Regions from separate parts of the Homo sapiens genome. Here all the other regions are linked to region 1. The links are contacts of gene promoters, found by promoter capture Hi-C in blood cells and fetal thymus (Javierre and others, 2016). All regions are on one chromosome and are shown on one strand. Each heading gives the region's core, a stretch centred on a gene start or on the middle of the fragment in contact. The rest is flanking DNA. Distances are from core to core; before and after follow the strand shown. Region 1 holds the start of KRT32 (keratin 32). Region 2 overlaps LOC107985072 (a long non-coding RNA gene). Region 3 overlaps LOC105371777 (a long non-coding RNA gene). Region 4 overlaps LOC105371776 (a long non-coding RNA gene).

What was found. Contacts are between HindIII fragments. The CHiCAGO score rates a contact against its expected background, and 5 or more counts as called.
Region 2: a contact is called between a fragment that was not itself captured here and the fragment with the promoter of KRT32 in region 1, in 9 of 17 cell types (naive CD4 T cells, naive CD8 T cells, total B cells and 6 more). The highest score is 10.3, in naive CD4 T cells.
Region 3: a contact is called between a fragment that was not itself captured here and the fragment with the promoter of KRT32 in region 1, in 3 of 17 cell types (neutrophils, endothelial precursors and total B cells). The highest score is 7.3, in neutrophils.
Region 4: a contact is called between a fragment that was not itself captured here and the fragment with the promoter of KRT32 in region 1, in 1 of 17 cell types (M0 macrophages). The highest score is 6.7, in M0 macrophages.

What each region holds. Positions count from the first base shown.
Region 1 is chr17:41,466,021-41,469,384 of GRCh38, reverse strand. It overlaps KRT32 (keratin 32), which reads left to right and starts at 1,999. Exons shown (of 7, transcript NM_002278.3): 1 at 1,999-2,527; 2 at 3,209-3,291. The coding sequence starts at 2,060. It also overlaps the pseudogene RNU2-32P. The HindIII fragment of the contact is 3,316 bases long and covers 1-3,005 here.
Region 2 is chr17:40,949,242-40,952,307 of GRCh38, reverse strand. All of the region lies in intron 1 of LOC107985072 (a long non-coding RNA gene), which reads right to left. Among named protein-coding and RNA genes, the nearest start is that of KRT23, 13 kb to the right of the region's middle. The HindIII fragment of the contact is 4,385 bases long and covers 1-3,066 here.
Region 3 is chr17:40,902,747-40,905,870 of GRCh38, reverse strand. All of the region lies in intron 1 of LOC105371777 (a long non-coding RNA gene), which reads right to left. Among named protein-coding and RNA genes, the nearest start is that of KRT20, 19 kb to the right of the region's middle. The HindIII fragment of the contact is 4,098 bases long and covers 1-3,124 here.
Region 4 is chr17:40,813,330-40,816,833 of GRCh38, reverse strand. It overlaps LOC105371776 (a long non-coding RNA gene), which reads right to left. Exons shown (of 4, transcript XR_934753.2): 4 at 2,706-2,886. Among named protein-coding and RNA genes, the nearest start is that of KRT10-AS1, 4.1 kb to the left of the region's middle. The HindIII fragment of the contact is 213 bases long and covers 1,144-1,356 here.

The sequences.
Region 1 (3,364 bases), core at 750-3,249:
TCTATAGGTTGCCTGCTGACTCTGATAACAGTTTCTTTTGCTGTGCAGAAGCTCTTTAGTTGAATTAGATCCCATTTGTCAACTTTGGCTTTTGTTGCAATTGCTTTTGCTGTTTTAGTCATGAAGTCTTTGCCCATGCCTATGTCCTGAATGGTATTGCCTAGACTTTCTTCTAGGGTGAAAACTCACATTTCTAACATGTTCCTGAGTCAGGTTGATGCTGAGAGTGACTGATAACACCTTATTATAATAATTATAGTTTTTGGGTGAGAGGATTAAATGGGCAAATTAATGCCAAGCACTCAGCACCATGCCTGGTATTTGTATACATTCCACAAGTGCTGGCTATGATTCTGAAGGGTGGCCTGATGAGTCTCATCCCTTGTAGTTGGTATTGCCATCACACCTCCTTCCATCTGATGCTATAATCTTCTCTAAATAGGTAATCCAGACAAGGTACTGGAATTTGTAGTTGTTGCAGAGAATCAAATTGTGAGAGTATTTGATCTGACCCCCTCGATTGGCATGAAGAAACTGAGGTCTGGAGAGACAAAATTACTTTCCCAAGGCCAAATGGCAAGTCAGAGGCAGTATATCTACGCTCTCCTTTTCTTATGCAATGAATGAGCTGGGTGGCATTTTCCCTTTCCTGTTCTTGTACTGACATTTCTGGGAATATGTGAAACATAAGGCAAGTACTTATACCCCAAAATTATATCAAGAAGATTACTGAATAAAAAAGTGGCTATATAGCACACACATACTAAATGTGAAGCTCACAGCTTTTGCAGCCAGGACTGAAAACCACTGCTCTAGCATGTTGCCTTCTTAAGTGAATGCCCAGGGCTTCTATAGTTGGGCAAATATGCTCCCTGTCTCCTGGCTTAGCTCATTCCAGGGCTATAGAACATCCTTTCCCAAGGGAGTGGATTCACACTGCTTCCATAGTCTGAGATCCTGAAGTGAGCCTTCCCCATCTGCCACAACAGAAAGTAAAAGTAGAACCTGTTCCAACTATTCTCAGTCTGTTCAACAAACAATTATTGAGCACTTGACAATTGTGTATATGGTGCAGTGATAATTGAATGGATGGTCCAGAGGGGGTCAAGACAGAGCAGCTGCCACCTGGAGATGTTCATGATATGGACTTTTCCAAGAGGAAGAGACCAACTGGAAAGATGTACCTGATTCTTAGGCTTCTGTTTGGGTCTTTTTTTTTTTTTTTTTTTTGCCTTTTGAAGGGGTGCAGCATTCCTGGAGGTACTGCAATACCAGGTCAACATGTAGAGTGAACAGAGCAAGCTCTTATTCCATCTCCCTGCTCCCAAAATCCATTTAATATGTTGTCCTCAGATGGAGGACGTATCAGATATTAAGACGATAAGAACAGATACCACACTTGATCTTAGCCAAAAGGCTGAGAAGTGATGCTGCCTATGTCTTGAGTTCATTCTCTCCCCACTGATATTATTTTCTTCCCCTTGGCAGGAAGATGATGTCTGTTAGGAAGCCTCTGAGGTTCCTGTTCCTTTCTGCTGGATTTATGCCGCTGCCAGCATCGGAGCAGTTTCTACCACCCACACATTTCCTTGTTAAATAGCCAGGCCTCTTCCCATGGGGAATGCTTTCATTAAAAGAGGCAGCCACTGCTGCACAGACCTGCAGGCTTCTCAGGGCTAGAGCAGGCGGGGGTGCAGTGGGCAAAGCCAGTGGAGGCACAGGCTGGGTTGTGGCAGTCTCCTGGAGGGCCTGCCCTAGTAATGAGGGCCCAGGCATGCGGCTGACCCTTTGAAGATGTGTCCTGAAGCTCTCTCATGGTGATCAATGACAGGAACCCAGACTCCTGCTTTAGCCAAATGATAAGTTTGGCCTCTTTTATTGGAAACCAAATTACAAATTAATTAGCAGCTTCCTCTGGGGCTGGGTGTGAACATCAACACCACCCAATGATGAATTTCTATCATGAGCCCCCTCACTGCAAGGGCATAAAATGGCCCGGGCGGCATGGGGTCTGTAGACATCCAGGTAGCTGTGGCTGAGGAGAAAGGGCCTCTCCAACATGACATCCTCCTGCTGTGTCACCAACAACTTGCAAGCCTCTCTCAAGAGCTGCCCCCGGCCTGCCTCGGTCTGTTCCAGCGGCGTGAACTGCCGGCCTGAGCTGTGCCTGGGCTATGTCTGCCAGCCCATGGCATGCCTGCCTTCGGTCTGCCTGCCCACCACCTTCCGGCCAGCCAGCTGCCTCTCCAAAACCTATCTATCCAGTTCCTGCCAGGCAGCCAGTGGCATCTCCGGCTCCATGGGCCCCGGCAGCTGGTACAGCGAAGGGGCCTTCAATGGCAATGAGAAGGAAACCATGCAGTTCCTTAACGACCGCCTGGCCAGCTACCTGACGAGGGTGCGGCAGCTGGAGCAGGAGAATGCGGAGCTGGAGAGCAGGATCCAAGAGGCCTCTCACTCCCAGGTGCTCACCATGACTCCTGACTACCAGTCTCATTTCAGGACCATTGAGGAGCTCCAGCAGAAGGTGAGGGCAGCGGTGAGGTGAATAGGCTCTCTGGGAAGGGAACTGGACTAGCTGGCATTCCAGATTGGAATCTCGTTAGCTTATTAAGCTATGTTCAGGACAAAGAGACTTCCCTAGGGCATAGGGTTATTTTATAATTTGAGCACTCAGCCTGAGGCTTTCATGTGGAGAGATCTGGGATCTAGTCTCAGTTCTACCATTGCCTCATTGCATGACTTTGGGGGTCCCATCCCTTCCCCAGGCCTCAGTTTTCTCATCTGTAAAACAGGGATAATAATGGTCGTTATCTAATGGGGTTGTCAAAAGGATTTGATGAGATGATGCAGGTCAAGTGCTTGGAACAGCCCCTGGTCCACGGTAAGTTTTCAGTAAATGTCAAAGACCCTTCTAACTGTCACATGAGTGACTTCAGACATGAGATTCTTCCCTTCCACATTGCTTGGCACATCCAAAATGGGGAATTTGAATTTACGAAGCTTCAGGTTCTTAAAAAATACATCTCAAGTTCTCCAAGGACTAGCAATTCGCTAAATATCTCCCAGAGTTCCAGGGAAGAGGACCTTCTGCAGGGATGGCTGCAGGGCTGCTGGATCCTACCTTTGCTGCTGTCTTCTCTTCATTTGGGTTCTTCTTGCTTCGTCTCATCCTGAACTAACCCTCTCCATGTGCCTTGGCCTACAGATTCTGTGTACCAAGGCAGAGAATGCCAGGATGGTTGTGAACATTGATAATGCCAAACTGGCTGCCGATGACTTCAGGGCCAAGTGAGTTCAGTCGGGGGGCTGGAGCTGGGGAGGACCTGTCCTCATAGGCTCTGGGGCAACTTTCCATTAGTTT
Region 2 (3,066 bases), core at 498-2,997, 520 kb after region 1:
GGTTATGGTGTCAATGGAGAAAACAGCTGGAAGGCTTCTCCACCGCCAACACATAATAAAAGTAATCACAGATGCACAGAAGCCACAGTGTCTCCTAGGGCCAAAAAGTAGAAAGAGTAATGCTTCTTTCATTCAATTAAAAACTGATTAAATATTATGCCTCTAGACATTGTGCTACATGCTTTACATGAATTATCTCACTCAATTCTCACAATGGCCCTACCATACTATGGTTATTACCACATTACTAACAAGTGAACTAAGGCTTACAGAAGTTAAGTAATTTGCTCAGTGTCACAGCTAGTAAATGTTAAAGTCAAAATCTGAACAAACTCAAATCCTCTATTCCAAATGCCCAATCAATTAAATAATTACTCAAGTTTGAAAATGTCATACATGTAGCCTAATGAAAGCTATAAAGAATTAAAGAAATAATGCTTGTCTTGGAGGTCTAAAGAAGGTGAGCCATATCCCTGGTGGTTCAAGTGGTTAAGAAAATATTTTAAAAAGAGAAAGTGAGCCCTAAAAACACAACACAACAGTGTCCAGCCCAATCCAGGAAGGGGCAACACTGAACTCATGAACACCATCTAAGCACGTGTGGACTTGAGGCAGTTTTTCAACCTCATTCCTCAAGACCCCATATCCCTCTTCTAGTTCCATTTTTGACAAAAGCCTTCATATTACAATTTGGTTTCTCTAATTCTTAGGTACAACAAAGAAGGTGCATTGATTTGCAGTTGGGAACTCTGTGGTTGCAAAATGGATCATCTTTCAATGTTAAATTAATAAGTTTGCATTCTGTCTCTTTCATCTGGCACTTAAAAGTCAGGTTACTCTGAGTCAGCTCCTGAGAATCCCTTTGGTTCTGGTGCACTAATAACCCACCAGCCTAAGAACAGACATAGACCACTGTGACTTCACAAGAAAGTATCACCTTGTGAAGTTCTGCTTTGGAGACCAGATGACCTAACTCAACAGCATCTTCATCTCTTCTCATTCTAACCACAACAATTAGGCTGTTGGATTTGTGTGAAGTTTATTGCTAGAAGATTGGCACAGTATAGCCCTGCTCTACTAGATATAAAGCCAAGAGGTCTTGAATGGAGAAGCATTGGGAAAGTGTAGGTCTCATTTCTAACTAGTTCATATTCATGGCGAGCATAGGCTCAAAACAATGAATGCCGGATATTCATGTTTCCAACAATTTGTGGCTTCATCAGCAATTGTGGGCTGCCAAAGCTGCAGGGGACTTCCTGGTTTTGACCCATCCCAAGAGTAACAGGACACAAGGCTGATAGGATGAAATATCCAAAGTCCACCCCCAGGATTCCATTTTTTTTCTTTTTTTTTTTTTGAGACAGAGTTTTGCTCGTGTTGCCCAGGCTGGAGTGCAATGGCACGATCTCGGCTCACCGCAACCTCCACCTCCTGGGTTCAAGTGATTCTCCTGCCTTGGCCTCCCAAGTAGCTAGGATTACAGGCATGCGCCACCATGCCCAGACAATTGTGGTTTTTTTTTTTTTTTTTAGTAGAGACAGAGTTTCTCCACGTTGGTCAGGCTGGTCTCGAACTCCTGACCTCAGATGATCCACCTGCCTTGGCCTCCCAAAGTGCTGGGATTACAGGTGTGAGCAACCACACCCACTGCCCCCCCCCACCCCCACAGGGTCCCTTTTAAGAAAGGCTACAAATTATAATTAGAGGGATGGTAATCAGAAATGAAATCAAACGTGTTGGGTTCAGAAAAAAACAGAAGATGCTATATTAGTGTATTCAGGAGAGGCACTGGGAGAAATAGACAAAATAAGAAAGAGAAAGGAGCAAAATGGATATGTTTTTGTGGCTGCAGAGTAAGAAGAACCAAGAGGTCATTTGGAGCTCACTTACATGGAACAGAATGTACAGTGGGACTAAGATTGCAGGGACCGTGTCCAGCGTCCCAGTTACAGCACCGTCTCTTTGTAGTAATGACACAAAGACTATGTAGTAAATAATAATTAAGGATGAAAGACGAGCTGTGGACAAAGGGTGAGATCAGGAGGGAAATAGGCTTTGGTTGTAAATAAAAGACACATATTCACATTTGCCCTAATGATGGTTCCCACGTGCCGTGGATCTTCAGGAACAGCCTTCCTTTTATGTAATTTTATGCTTCTCCGTAAAAATTATTTGTAAAATGTTTAATTAAATGTGATTTAAATTCTATAATTTTCTGAGGTATATCATATATATTAATTTGAAAATTTAAAAATCCACCTATAATTTGCCTTTTTAGGGTTTATGAAATATAGTAACTATAACCATCTTTGCTGTTACGCTAATAATTAAAGATCTAGACTAAGTATGTGTATGGAAAATATGTTTTATAAATCACATGGAAAACACATTCTATTCACCTTGATTTAATCTTTGTAGGAGATTGGTCAGAGTGGTGGGAGAAACTATAGGGAAAGGATGCAAACCTTCTGAAAGTTCAGAAGGCTCTGCATAGCTTCAGGGGAGAATAAGCTGAAGGCAGCTGTTCTCTGATCCTGAGGCAGAGGGCAAGGAGTAGGTACAAGGAGGTGTAGGGGAATTTATCGTAAACAGGCTTGTTTACTTAGGTTGTCCAGAAACCGACCTTTGATAATCTGTGCACATGACTGCTCCCTGAAAAGGGGAACAATAATGTTAATTACCCGCAGATTGTGTTTGCTCCAGGCTTTCGGCATTATGTCTGTACTGAATAAAAGCAAGCAGCTTCAGCTGTTCGCAGCTGCTCTCTTCTTTGGCCCTAAGTGCCGGCAGACCCCTAGCTGCTCTTACACTGCACGCCTGTGTTGTCAGTACTCCCTTCATCCGACGCTCGGCCAGGGTCTGCAGGACAGACCTGGCAAATCTTCAGCAAAAATCCATCACCAGAGTTCCTACTGGATGTTTCCCCCACAAACACACAGACACTACGATGTTCTACTGCCACTGTAACAAAGTGACATGCATTTCATGGCTCAAAATAACACAAAACACGAATGTACTATCTTACTGTTCTCTATTTCAGAAATCTGACTTGGGACTCAGTGTACT
Region 3 (3,124 bases), core at 120-2,619, 560 kb after region 1:
GGCGCATCACATACTGGGGACTGTCGGGGCGTGGAGGGCTGTGGGAGGAGAGCATTAGGACAAATATCTAATGTAGATGACAGGCTGATGCGTGCAGCAAACCACCATGGCGCATCAATACCTATGTAACAAACCTGGATGTTCTGCACCTGTACCCCAGAACTTAAAGTATAATATAAAAAATAGAAAGACATTTTTCTATGGAATGTGAAGGCTACTTCAGTACCAAATAACAGTCTCTTGTGATGAGAGCACCATGTCTGCCAGGCGGCATCTGTTGCACAGCACTCTGCTGTGTCTTCCAGCCTCTGCCTCGTTCCCACTTCAGCCGGGCGTTCCTGCTTACATCTGTGGCAAGCTCTCAGCTAGCTTCTCCTCCCAGACTGAGAATCCTCCTAAACTGCACCTCTTGCCATTTACCCTCTAGGGGACAATAGACTTCTTCATCTTGTACCTGGGTGATACCAGGCTCTCAGAATTCCTAGGGATCAGAGGGGTGGGTAGAAGGACAGGTGGATCAGGTAGATGCATGAAGAGAGGCAACGCCAGTTACTCAGACTCTGCCTGGGCTACCAGAGTCCTGAGCTTCTTGCCCCCATTCGGGAGGTGTTAGGGGTCTCACTCCGAATCATTACTAGTTTGTTCTTTAGCTTTTATTTCCATTTCTTCCGTGTGTGTGTGTGTGTGTGTGTGTGTGTGCTGCCACTGATACTACTTTTCCCTCTCAGCGATTAAAAGAAAAAAAGATACATTTGAAAAAGTGGTGTATTATCTATTCTGTTAATATGATGTCAGTATTTATGAGGTGTGGTCTTTGTGCCTCTTTTTAAAGATATAAGGAATTACTCCATCGCCAAAGTTCGGTGGCTTCTCATATCACAGAGTAAAAGGCAGGTTCCTTGCTGGATGATGGCATCCACATCCCTCACCATTCACCTCCGAATTGCTGAGGTCCTTTCCACCACCCTCCCTTCCATCCCTGAGCACCCCCACATCCCCACTGCTCCACCCACACTCACACCTAAACTGCTATAGACCTTTGCACCTGAGCTGCCATATGGCTCTTTTCTTCCTGCTGTCATTCAAATACCACTCTCACAGGGAGGCCCATTCTCATCTCTCTACACACAAGGGCAACTTTCCCAGCCCTCCCCACCCTTCCTTTTTCTCCTCTGACCTACTCCCTTCACCTCTAGCTCCCACCCCTGAATCTAAGTTCCGCCAGGGCAGAAACGTTTGTGTTTTTTTAACTACTGTATCCCCAGCATCTGCAACAAAACCTTGCACACACTGATATTCACACAGACTTGTGAATTCATGAATGAATGCGTGAGTGAATGAATGAATACATCATATACTATACAAGGTTCATAGTAAAAAATAGCAGCCCCTGGTGTCCCCACTCCTGAATGTTTCTCTCTGAAATCTTTTAGCTATTGTTTCTGGTATTAACCTGCATATCTCTAAGGAATATGCTTACACTGCTATTTCTTGTTTTATCAACTTAAGACGTTAAAGACCGGGCACGGTGGCTCACGCCTGTAATCCCAGCACTTTGGGAGGCCGAGGTGGGCGGATCACGAGGTCAGGAGTTGGAGACCATCCTGGCTAACACGGTGAAGCCCCGTCTCTACTAAATATACAAAAAAAAATTAGCCGGGCGAGGTGATGGGCACCTGTAGTCCCAGCTACTCGGGAGGCTGAGGCAGGAGAATGGCGTGAACCCAGGAGGTGGAGCTTGCAGTGAGCCGAGATCACGCCACCGCACTCCAGCCTGGGCGACAGAGCGAGACTCCGTCTCAAAAAAAAAAAAAAAAAAAAAAAGAAGACATTAAAGACCTAAATCCCCATTGTAGAAGATGGCATCACAGGATTCTTACACCATCTCACACCTCCGGTTGCCATTTCTCTACCTTTCCAGTGTGATTACATCACATTGTCTTATAATTTACATATATATTATCTGTATGGGGTTTATATCCCTTTGCTAGAATGAAGCCTTGTCAGCAGGAATTTGTGTTTGTCTTGCTCACGGAAGTATCCTCATGGCCTAGAACAGTGCCAGGCCCTCAGCAGGTACTGAGTAAATATTTGTGGAGTGAATGGATGAATTCTGAGATTTATGGGCTGTGACTTATCCACCAGTTACTCATCGCTGCACTTTAGGGATGCGTGGGCCACCTCCATGTCCCTGTGCTTTTCCAGCTTGGACTCTCCCTCAAACTCTGCACTTTCAGGAAAACTTCAATGACTCCCTCCCACCCAGCTTTACTTGGGGATCCTTCCTCTATATCCACAAATCTTTTCGTGAACATTATATATAATTCCCGATTAGTCACCGTCTCCGGCTAGGCTGCCGCCTCCTCGGAATCATGGACTGTGTCTTGATTTCTGAACCCTATTGGCTATCACAGCATCCCACCTATTGTAATTGATTCTCAAGCAGCTATGAATGAAGGACACACAGTCCCTGCTTGCCACTTGGAGGCAAGAAAGAAACGACATCTTCCTGTTCCTGGTGAGCCCTAGGGTGAGTCACTTCACCATTTACAGAGATAACATGTGGCTCGATTGCTTCTTCTTTCACTCTTCACTTCCCCAGGTTAATAATTGCCAGATCATGTCATACTCTTTATTTTTTCAACCATTTCACTTCTTGCCATCCCTTTCCATGTCCAAATCTCCCTCAGAAATAAAAATAAATTTCAAATTAGTCAGAGCATCGTGACTTCTTTCAAAGTTAGAATTACTGCCTTATGAAACATGTGATTCAATGTGGGGCTCCGCTTGACAAGATCAAGCATTCTAAACTAAAATGTACAACCAGTGGAAATATCTTCCTGCTCCTCGACTACTGATACTTTACAGCCATGGTTCTCCAACTTTACCATGCATCCGAAGCACTGGAAAGACTTGCTAAGATGGAGCCACAGATTGTGGGGTCCCACTCCCAGAGTTTCTGAGCCAGATAATCAGAGTCTGGGAATTTGCACTGCCACAAGCTCCTGGGTGCTGCTGATGCTGCCAGTCTGAAGCCCACACTTTGAGAACCCTCGCTTTCCCATAATGCTTCAAGAAGTCTTAGGCACTAAGTTGATGCACCTGTGAAGGGGTTAGATTTCCC
Region 4 (3,504 bases), core at 1-2,500, 650 kb after region 1:
ATTCAATACCACTGATACGAGGCAAGTACACATATGTTACTATGAGATAGCAGTGCTTGCTGTTAAGTTTGTCTCTTCTACCCATTCTGCCCTCCTCCCCCAGGCCACAATCTTAGCAGTCAGAGTCCTCTATGTGGTTGGATGGTGACCCAAACTTTCATTCCTGAAAAGTCTGCATACATCGTGGTCCTGTCTTCTTACCATTTCAATCTTGCAATACCTCCTTAAACAATTATTTATATTCTCTCTGATAAAGTAAATACTTTATCTCAGATAAACAGCTGCTTTCTTGATTGGACTTGGATAACTATGGTTTGTTTTTGCTTTTTTTTTTTTTTTTTTAATGAGACAAAGTCTCACTGTGTTGCCCATGCTAGTCTTGAACTGGGCTCAAGCAATCCTCCCACCTCAGTCTCTGAGTAGCTGGGATTATAGGCACATGCCGCAGTGCCCAACACTATGGTTTAATAAAGATAATCTGTCTAAATAAGCCACTTGTCTTTAATAAGGACATTGGTATTTATAGTAAAAAAAATTACAGAATTATTTTTAAAAATTATTAAATAGCACAGGGCACTATTTTTACCAAATAAATTTGCATGTACCTATTAATCAAAAAATTCTGTATGCATTCTTACAGATTCTAAAGTCATTACAGAATCCTGCTATTTAAGCAGGGTAGTGCCTAATTAGATTGGCAGAGCCAATTCGGCACCCATGTCAAAAAATATTACACGATAAAATCCTGTTTCCCCAAAGATGTTCTCTTATGATGCTAAAGGCCTAAAAGCTTTGCACCCTAATCTTGGTGCCCATGATGGCTTGATATTTTGCTTGGGAGTGAAGAAATAGCTTTGTTAGGGTCATCTTTATCAGGGAAGTAACTCGATTAAGGTTAAATAGGATGCATCTAATATTTCTCATCTATATTGCATTTTGAGAATGGGAATTAGGGAAAGAGCTTATTCATGGTTTATGAGCATGCAACTGAAACACAGTGATCCCTGGACTTCCTATCCTGGCACTGGCATTTACAAATTATGTACCTTTGGACAAGTTACTTCAACCCTTCTGAGTCTGTTTACTTACCTATACAATAAGGGATAGCTACCTTATATGAGGTAGTTGTGGTTAAACTAAGCTTGACAATGAAAATAATGATAATAATAGCCTTTAAATCACACCGGGCATTGTTCTGAGTAAATGATGGATGGATAGATAGGTAGGTAGGTGGGTAAATGTGTGGATGGATAGATAGATAGATTAGATAGATAGATAGATAGATAGATAGATAGATAGATACAGATAGGTAGGTAGACTCAGTACATATAACATGTATATGAACTCATTTAAGCTTAGCTACTACCCTACAGTTTATTTTCAACACAGAACCATAGTTATCCTTTTAAAATGTAAGTCTAATATATTAGATCAAATTGTAAGTCTAATTATATTTGATCAAAATTCTTTGATGTCTCTCCATTTCTCTTTTGATGTTACCTTGGTTAATATTCTTTAACAAGATGGTCTTCCTTACCTCCTTCAAGCCTTTGCACAGTTGTCACTTTTTCTTTGAGACCCACTCTGATTTTCCGCTTAAAATTTTACCTGCCAATCTCCCAACTCCCCTATCTGCTCCACTTTTTTTATTATTATTATACTTTAAGTTCTAGGGTACATGTGCAGAATGTGCAGGTTTGTTACGTAGTTATACGTGTGCCATGTTGGTTGGCTGCGCCCATTAACTCGTCATTTACATTAGGTATTTCCCCTAATTCTATCCCTCCCCCAGCCCTCTACCCCACAACAGGTGTGTGATGTTCCCCACCCTGTGTCCATGTGTTCTCATTGTTCAACTCCCACCTATGAGTGAGAACATGTGGTATTTGGTTTTATGTCCTCGTGATAGTTTGCTCAGAATGATGGTTTCCAGCTTCATCCATATCCCTGAAAAGGACATGAACTCATCCTTTTTTATGGCTGCATAGTATTCCCTGGTGTATATGTGCCACAGTTTCTTAATCCAGTCTATCATTGCTGGACATTTAGGTTGGTTCCAAGACTTTGCTATTGTGAATAGTGCCACAATAAACATACGTGTGCATATGTCTTTATAGTAGCATCATTTATAATCCTTTGGATGTATACCCAGTAAAGGGATCGCTGGGTCAAATGGTATTTCTAGTTCTAGATCCTTGAGGAATTGCCACACTGTCTTCCACAATGGTTGAACTAATTTACACTCCCACCAACAGTGTAAAAGCGTTCCTATTTCTCCACATCCTCTCCAGCATTTGTTGTTTCCTGACTTTTTAATGACCGCCATTCTAACTGGTGTGAGATGGTATCTCATTGTGGTTTTGATTTGCATTTCTCTGATGACCAGTGATGTTGAGCATTTTTTCATATGTCTGTTGGCTGCATAAACGTCTTCTTTTGAGAAGTCTGTTCATTTCCTTTGTCCACTTTTTGATGGGGTTGTTTTTTTCTTGTAAATTTGTTTAAGTTCTTTGTAGATTCTGGATATTAGCCCTTTGTCAGATGGGTAGATTGCAAAAATTTTCTCCCTTTCTGTAGGTTGCCTGTTCACCATGATGATAGTTTCTTTTGCTGTGCAGAAGCTCTTTAGTTTAATTAGATCCCATTTGTCAATTTTGGCTTTTGTTGCCATTGCTTTTGGTTTTTCAGTCATGAAGTCTTTGCCCATGCCTGTGTCCTGAATGGTATTGCCTAGGTTTTCCACTTTTTCTTTTTTTCACAGCACTGTTTCCAACTTACTATACAATGTATTCATTATTAGTCATCCTTTTCCCCTGCTAGACGGTACACTCCAGAAAGACAACGCTTGATCTTCGTCTACTTTATCCATTCATGTATCCTGAGGCACTAGAACAGTGACTAACACAGGTTAGGTACCAAAAATATCGTTTTTGAAGGAATGAACTCTATGACATATATACTATTATTATCTCCATTTTACAGATGAAGAAACTGAAGCACAATTTAATTCATCACTGGAACTAAGAGTGTAGGAAATGATTATATATAAATGGACATTAGTGTATGATAAAGGAAGAATCTAAACCCTAAGAAAGTAAGGTTTATTCAGTAAATGATAAACTATTAAACCCATAACAAACATACTAGAAATAATCCAAATGAGTGTCTTAAACATCCATATAAGTAGTAAAAAAAAAGCAGAAAAAAATGTGTAATCACATTTTTTAAATTTTGAAATAATTATAGACTCGTTGGAAATTGCAAAAATAGTAGAGTCCAGTGTACTCCTGACTCACCTTCCCCAAATAGAGACATCTTCTATAGGCTAGGGTATAATATCTAAAATTTAAAAATTGGCATTGGTACATCACTGTTTAACTACAGAGCTTACTCAGTTTTTGTTTTTCCTAACCTGCATGTGTATTCACAAAATACAAATCTTATAAAGGACTGGCATATAGAATATAAATATAAAAAACTATAACTCAATAACAAGAAAAAACC